2 separate regions of the Homo sapiens genome follow, and region 2 is linked to region 1. Evidence: promoter capture Hi-C in human tissues and cell types (Jung and others, 2019). All regions are on one chromosome and are shown on one strand. The core of a region is centred on a gene start or on the middle of the fragment in contact, and the rest is flanking DNA. Distances in the headings are between cores, read along the strand shown.

The links. Contacts are between HindIII fragments. The study calls those that stand out against the background at their distance.
Region 2: a fragment that was not itself captured here is called in contact with the fragment with the promoter of F13B in region 1 in 1 of the 25 tissues and cell types used here (thymus).

Annotation. Positions count from the first base shown.
Region 1 is chr1:197,065,418-197,068,716 of GRCh38, forward strand. It overlaps F13B (coagulation factor XIII B chain), which reads right to left and starts at 1,843. Exons shown (of 12, transcript NM_001994.3): 1 at 1,743-1,843. The coding sequence starts at 1,806. RefSeq lists an enhancer at 2,951-3,299. The HindIII fragment of the contact is 20,654 bases long and covers 1-3,299 here.
Region 2 is chr1:196,717,653-196,720,951 of GRCh38, forward strand. The region is part of intron 11 of CFH (complement factor H); the gene reads left to right. Among named protein-coding and RNA genes, the nearest start is that of CFHR3, 56 kb to the right of the region's middle. The HindIII fragment of the contact is 7,403 bases long and covers 1-3,299 here.

The sequences.
Region 1 (3,299 bases), core at 593-3,092:
AAAGTACATGAAGCGATGGACACACTTACTACTGATCAGAGAATGGTAAATAAATAAAAATGGGATATCACTTTATGAATAACCATATAGCAACCAGTACAAAAATGGACAATATGAGGTGTTGGTGAGAATGATGAGGAGCAACAATTTACATCCTCTCTCAGAGATGATATACTTCAAAACTGCCATTCTGCAAAAGTAATCTCTCATTACAGAAATCAAGTACAAGAATAGACTCAATAATGCTATCTGTGAGTGAATACAGACTGATGACATTCTTACAGAAAGATAAGTTGGTTATATTACAATATTCATTCCAGAGCTATTTGTGGTTGAGAGAGCTAGAGTAACATGTTAAAACATTGTAGTAGGTCCCAGGGGAAATGGACTTCAAGATTAGGAATAAGGGGATAAAATGTGTAAGTAAAGCAAGAGTGAGACCTTTCATAGGCCAATAATACTTGCATACCATGAAATGAGAAACACAATTAATTCAATTCTTGTCCCTGAAGTGCACAATGGGAGTTGAGAGAAGCATGCAAAAATAAAATCATTGTCTTGGTCTTCAAGCAGCTTACTTTTTTTTTTGTTGTGTAAAATAGCATTATAACCTTATAATAATTAGAAAATTAACTAGAATATTGCAATGTCTTTATGGTATAGATAACAGACAATTATATCTGCTGGTATTTCCCTATTTAGACAGAAAAATAAAATCAAAAGAAATTCATGCAAAAATCATCCTATTATAGAATTAAAAGTATAAAATAAGATTAATTCTGTGTCTTTCACTTTTATAATTTTAATTATAGATGTTTTGGTAGAAAATTTATAGTTAACTATTCAACTAAAACACAGTTAAAACTTATGTATTTAATTTCAACAAATTCCCAAAAATGTTTATTTTAGAAAAGCTGTATTGCTGTAGCTTCCTTCTTTGTATGTTCACTCTTGCTAATGCTAAGTGTCCTCCCTGGATTCTTCATCCTATGGCCTGATAATATTGATAATGTTCCTGAACAACATACCCATGTACACTGCCTAGCTTCCACTCGCACACTAATCTTACACATTGGGCAATCTGACTATAAAGCTTTCTAATAGGGAGTCCATAGGTATTGGTTTGTTTGGAAAGTCCTGATTTACATGTGTTGTCCAAACAGTTATTAATAGAGCCCCTCTTTTACTCTCTAAGTGTCCCTGTTTGTACAAGCAATTATATGGTTCACCTACTAATCACTACTTAATGTCTCCAACAAATGAATAATTCATTGTGATAAAAATCAAAGTCTCAAAAGTAAAAAATATTTATGGCTATTTCCTTTTCAAATTTCCCACATTAAACTCTCACCTTATGAACAGAATTAAAATTGTACAAGTTTTGTCAGTATTAGGAATGGATTCTAGCATAAATTTAGAATTAAAGTTAACATGTGACTTCGAAATGGACATATTGTTAACCTGAAAACCTTTTCGAAGTATTTAGATCCTGGTCTCCTATGCCCCCTAGAGATACAAGGGTTTTTGTTTTGTTTTGCTTTTCTGACTTATGCTACTGTAAGAACACTTTACTAATTTTGCTCAAAGGAAAAGGTCTAAATATTATAAAAAGTTATATTTATAAAATATGTTATAAAATTGATAATGAAAATAGAAGAGTATATTAAAACTTGAGTTGTATAAATATTAGAATCTCCATTTGTATGTTTTAGAGAATAAAGAATATTAAGAATTAATTTTACCTTCTGCATAGAGTTCTCCTGAGATTATCAATATGATGATAAAAGTCAGGTTTTTCAACCTCATCTTCAGTGGTGTGCTTCACAAAGATTTTAACAATTCTAAGCACTAGGAACTTGTCATTAAGTACACAATACTTCTCTTGAGGAAAAAGTTAATAATTTATAACCTCTGTCTAAGTCCTTTTGTAACGAGTCTTATATTTCACTTAAAATATTTTGAAATAATGTTAAAATAACACAACTATATTAATTGACATTACTTACCATGTCAGAGTCCAGTAAGAGCATGATAACTGATTAGGGCAACAATAGCAGCAGAATAAATAATAAATTATAGCAGCAGAATAAATAATACTAGGTAAATTTTCAACCTAAGTTCCCAATTGTAAATTCATAGAGTAAAGTTCACTTGAGGCCATAGATCTTTACTAATATTGATCAGGTAAAAAGATGAACTTAGGAACATGAGATAACAGATACCTGATGTTGAAATATGTTGTTGCCTAGACTGCACTCCTTAAAGAGATACAGAACCATAGTTGTCTCAATGATAGAATAGTATTACTTATAATAGTAGTGTTTGACATTTAGAGAGTTTTTACTTTGTGGCAGGTGGTGAGATCAGCACTGTGCTATATCAACATTCATTCATGAGAAATGTTTAGAACGTCCATGATAATGGCAGCACATGTAACAGTTTTGAGGTATTTAGCAGTGAAAAAACTGGATTAAAATTATTGCCCTCATGGAGTTTACATTCTAATGAGTTTTAATTTAAAATACAAAATAGGAAAAAATGGTGGATAGGAGGCAGGACTAACTTGCAGCTCCCACTTGGATGGACAGAGCAGGATGTGGAGACTCGCATTGTGAACTTTTGCTCCAAGAACTGCTGCAAGGATATAACAGGAAAGCCAAGATAATCCACAGACCCTCTGAAGAAAGTATATTGCTCCTGCATGACCCAGAAAATAGCCCACATACTGTGAATGCCCAAACTGTGAAAAGTGTGAAAGGGGTATTGTCCACCCCTGAACACACACCCTTGGGGAACCTGAAGGTCTAGATCACAGGAGAAGGATTTGACCTTACCTGGAGCTCAGACAATTTAGAGAGCTGAGCGAAATACAGGGGTAGAGGAAGCAAAGGGTAAAGCCCCATCGTCTCTGTGGGTCCCCAGAGAAGCCATTTCTGACTTGTCTCACAGGGGCTGCCGGAGGAACTGGGAAAAGACCACAGGGAGAAGGAAACCTCCAGCTGAACTTAGTAACAATTCCAACCGAACACAAACTTTCCTGTCCAGAACTCAGGAAAGGGCGTGAATCTGGTGTGCAGACTTAACAGGTAGGGAGGCACAAAAGTCTGGCTTGCATTCTCAGCTGGGAGGCTAGTAGCCTGGGGCAAGTTCTCAATCCTGCTCCCCTACTGCCTGGAAACAAATTCGGTGCTTTTTGGGGGAACACAGTAGAAGTGAGATTTGCTTGTTGGGTTGTGTGAGAGCTGGGTGAGGTCTGTAACTGCCAGCTTTCCCCCACTTCCCTGACAACCTGCATGACA
Region 2 (3,299 bases), core at 569-3,068, 350 kb before region 1:
TATTGCTTGAGGAAAGTTGTGCACTGAAGGGATAATTAAAAGAAAAAAGATGGAAGACACCAGAGCAGATACAGCAAAAGGGGAGCTGCAAAGGCTGAACACATGACTTACATAGTTGCCCTGAGAAAATGCGAGGGGAAAGGACTCACAGCTACTGTGGAGGTATTGTGCTTTGGTGGCAACAGGACTGCTTACAACCTTGTGACAGGTGGCAACAGGACTGCTTACAACTTTGTGACAGGAGATGGGAAGGAAAATGAGCAGTAACGTTGGAAAATGGTAGAAGCTGATGGATTCTGTTTTGAAGTATGAGACATGGTCATCTGAGATTGAATAGTGTGTGGGCGAAGGAGGAGGAAGAGTACTAGGTAGAATAGAAAAGTTTTGAAATAGTCACAGCTGAGAAAGAGAATGAGTACATTGTAGATGAAAGGCAGTGTCAAAGGTCCAGTTAAATTTGACTCATTCCTGCTGTTGTAAACACCTATCATAGGACAGGAGAAAATGGTGAAAACACAAGCACAGGTCTACTTATCCAGAGATTTTATTCTAATATAAGACAGTGGAAAACTAAAAAGAGATAAGCCAAATATCCAAGTAATAAAAATATTTAAAATATATTTTATGTATCACTGTGTACAGAGAAATAGAAAATCCAATAATTGAGATAGAAAATAGGAGGGAAGGAACTGGAGATCTGTTTTACATAGGAAGTCATCGATGCAAAGAATGGTTGAAAGCCATTTGTTATAGTGAGAAGGGTATGTGCAACAGCTGAGGCAGCGAAGAACTTGACCTTTTTAATAAAATTCAAAGATCATAAAATCTGAATCCTGGATTTAGTGGAGGAGAGAGACATTTGATAACATTGGAAGAGTAGGCATGGATCATAAAGAGGTTGAGTTTTGCTCTAATTGAGAGGGGGAGGCTTAATTTAAGAGACTCATAAATTTCTTTTCTGTGATGATAGGTAAATTTAGGTTTTATGAAGCCAGAAGCTTTTACAATTTTGAGGGGTCTTCTTCAAAAAAGAACACAAAATTGTGAATATATTGCTTCAGTAGTCTTTCCAATCACCAGACATGAAATGAAAACCTAAAGGAGAGAAAGTTGGAGTGGCGGACATAGCAGTAGAAGCTGATGTAGAAAATGTCTTTCTATTGCAAATTGTACAAAGACTTAGGATCATTTGAACACATAACTAGGAATTTGCTAGTATAGTACAGGCCTCCAAACATTAAACGAAGAAATACCAGCTTAGTATTCTTTTCAAATATTCTTCTCTCAGCCATGTAACAGAAAACTGCATGTGGATTGACAGACATCTGAGTATATTTCAAGTGTCCTAGGAGGTCTCTTCTTTGTGGAAAGGTTTCCACAGAATTGTTATTATGGAGCACTTAAGCTAAATAAGGAGTATGTATCTCAGAGTTAAAAATTCATATTAACATTTCACATATCTAGTACTAGGACTTAGGGTTTTGAGTTTTAGATGAAGAAAAATATTTCTAATTCATGGAGTGTCCATTCACATTCTTCTCTAAATCACGTTTTGTAAGTTATTACCTCTATATAAATACAGCATTTGAATAATACCCAATAATCAAGATCTTAACTTTCCTTTTTAAGATAATGCTTTTCACAATATTACAACAGACAGAATTTATATAAAATTAGCACAAAATACGTGAACAAACACACATACAAAAAAAAGAATTGCTATGTAGAAGATTGGTATAGACTTTTAGGAGAGAAATCCCAGTGATTCTCATTCAAGTGTGATTTTCTCAAATAATCTGCAAAACTCATTAAAACAAACACAAAAGCAAATTTTTGTAGTTATTATTTTGTGACATTACTTTTAAGAATAGTTTTAAATCTAATTTTGTAATTGTATTTTAATAATTGAGGTTATGATGTAATTAATTTTCTTTTTAGTATGATTCTAATTTATGAATTCTAGCTTGTACTTTTCTAAGTTAGCAAGAAAGGAGGATTCTGAATAAGAAAAATAATATTTTGGATAATATTTAGTAATGTTGCTGATTTTTAAAAATTATAAACATGTAAGAGATAATTTTACACATTTCTTATCTGAATCAGAATAATTATCAAATTTATTAAACATTGATATAAATAGTACATATAACAAAAATTGTTATATGTTAACATAAATATTCAGGATACCTAGAATTTGCCTTTCCATGTGAACTTGAAAATTTATCTTGGTTTGTTTTCTTTATTTGTAATATATTAATTATGTGTTTTTTATATTTTTTTTAACTTAAAATATATTAGAAATGCTATTTTGGGTTCTTTTTCCTTGATTACATTAAACAAAAATACCAATTTTAATTAATTTCTTAGTGCATATATCTTCACTAATAAATCTTTGATGAGAATTTACCTTTTTGTGATGTATATGTCAGTCATCAAGAATTATAAACATGATGAGACCAGAAATCATTTGAGGTTGTTTAGTTTCAGTTAAATAAAGTTATCATTGACTCTGCAATGACAGATATTATACCATCATTATTCTCGGGATCCTCCCCAGTTCTATTATAAATTTAACTTCTTAAGATATTTCCATGGTGTTTTATGATGTGTTCTTTTATTTTTAAAATTTTAATTTCTATGTTTTATATGTTTAGATGGTCCAAATGCAGTTTTGTTGCATGGATATATTGCATAGTGGTGAAGTCTGTACTTTTAGTGTATTCATCACCCAAATACTGAACATTGCACCCATTAGGTAATTTCTTATTCCTCACCCTCCTGCTATCCTGCCACATTTCTGAGTCTCCAATGTCTGTTACTCAGCACTCTCTGTCCATATGTACGCATTATTTAGCTCTCACTTATAAGTGACAATATGTGGGATTTTACTTTCTGAATCTGAATTATTTTACCTAAAATAATGGCCTTTAGTTTTATACATGTTGCTTCTGAAGGCATGATTTTATTCTTTTTTTTTCTTTTTATTTTTTGTTTTGGCTGAGTAGTATTCTATGGCATATATCTATACCACATATTCTTTATCCAATCATCTGTTGGTGGACAATTAGTTTGATTCCATATTATTGCTACTGTGAGTAGTGAGGCTATAAACATATGAGTCTGGGTATCATTTTGATATGATAATTGATTTCCTTTGGGTAGATACACAGTAGTGGGATTGCTGGGTGAAATGGTAGTTCTGTTTTTAGTTCTTTGGGAAATGTCCATTCTGTTTTCCATAGAGGTTGTACTAATTTACATTCCCACCAACAGCGTATAAGCATTCTTCTTTCTCCTCA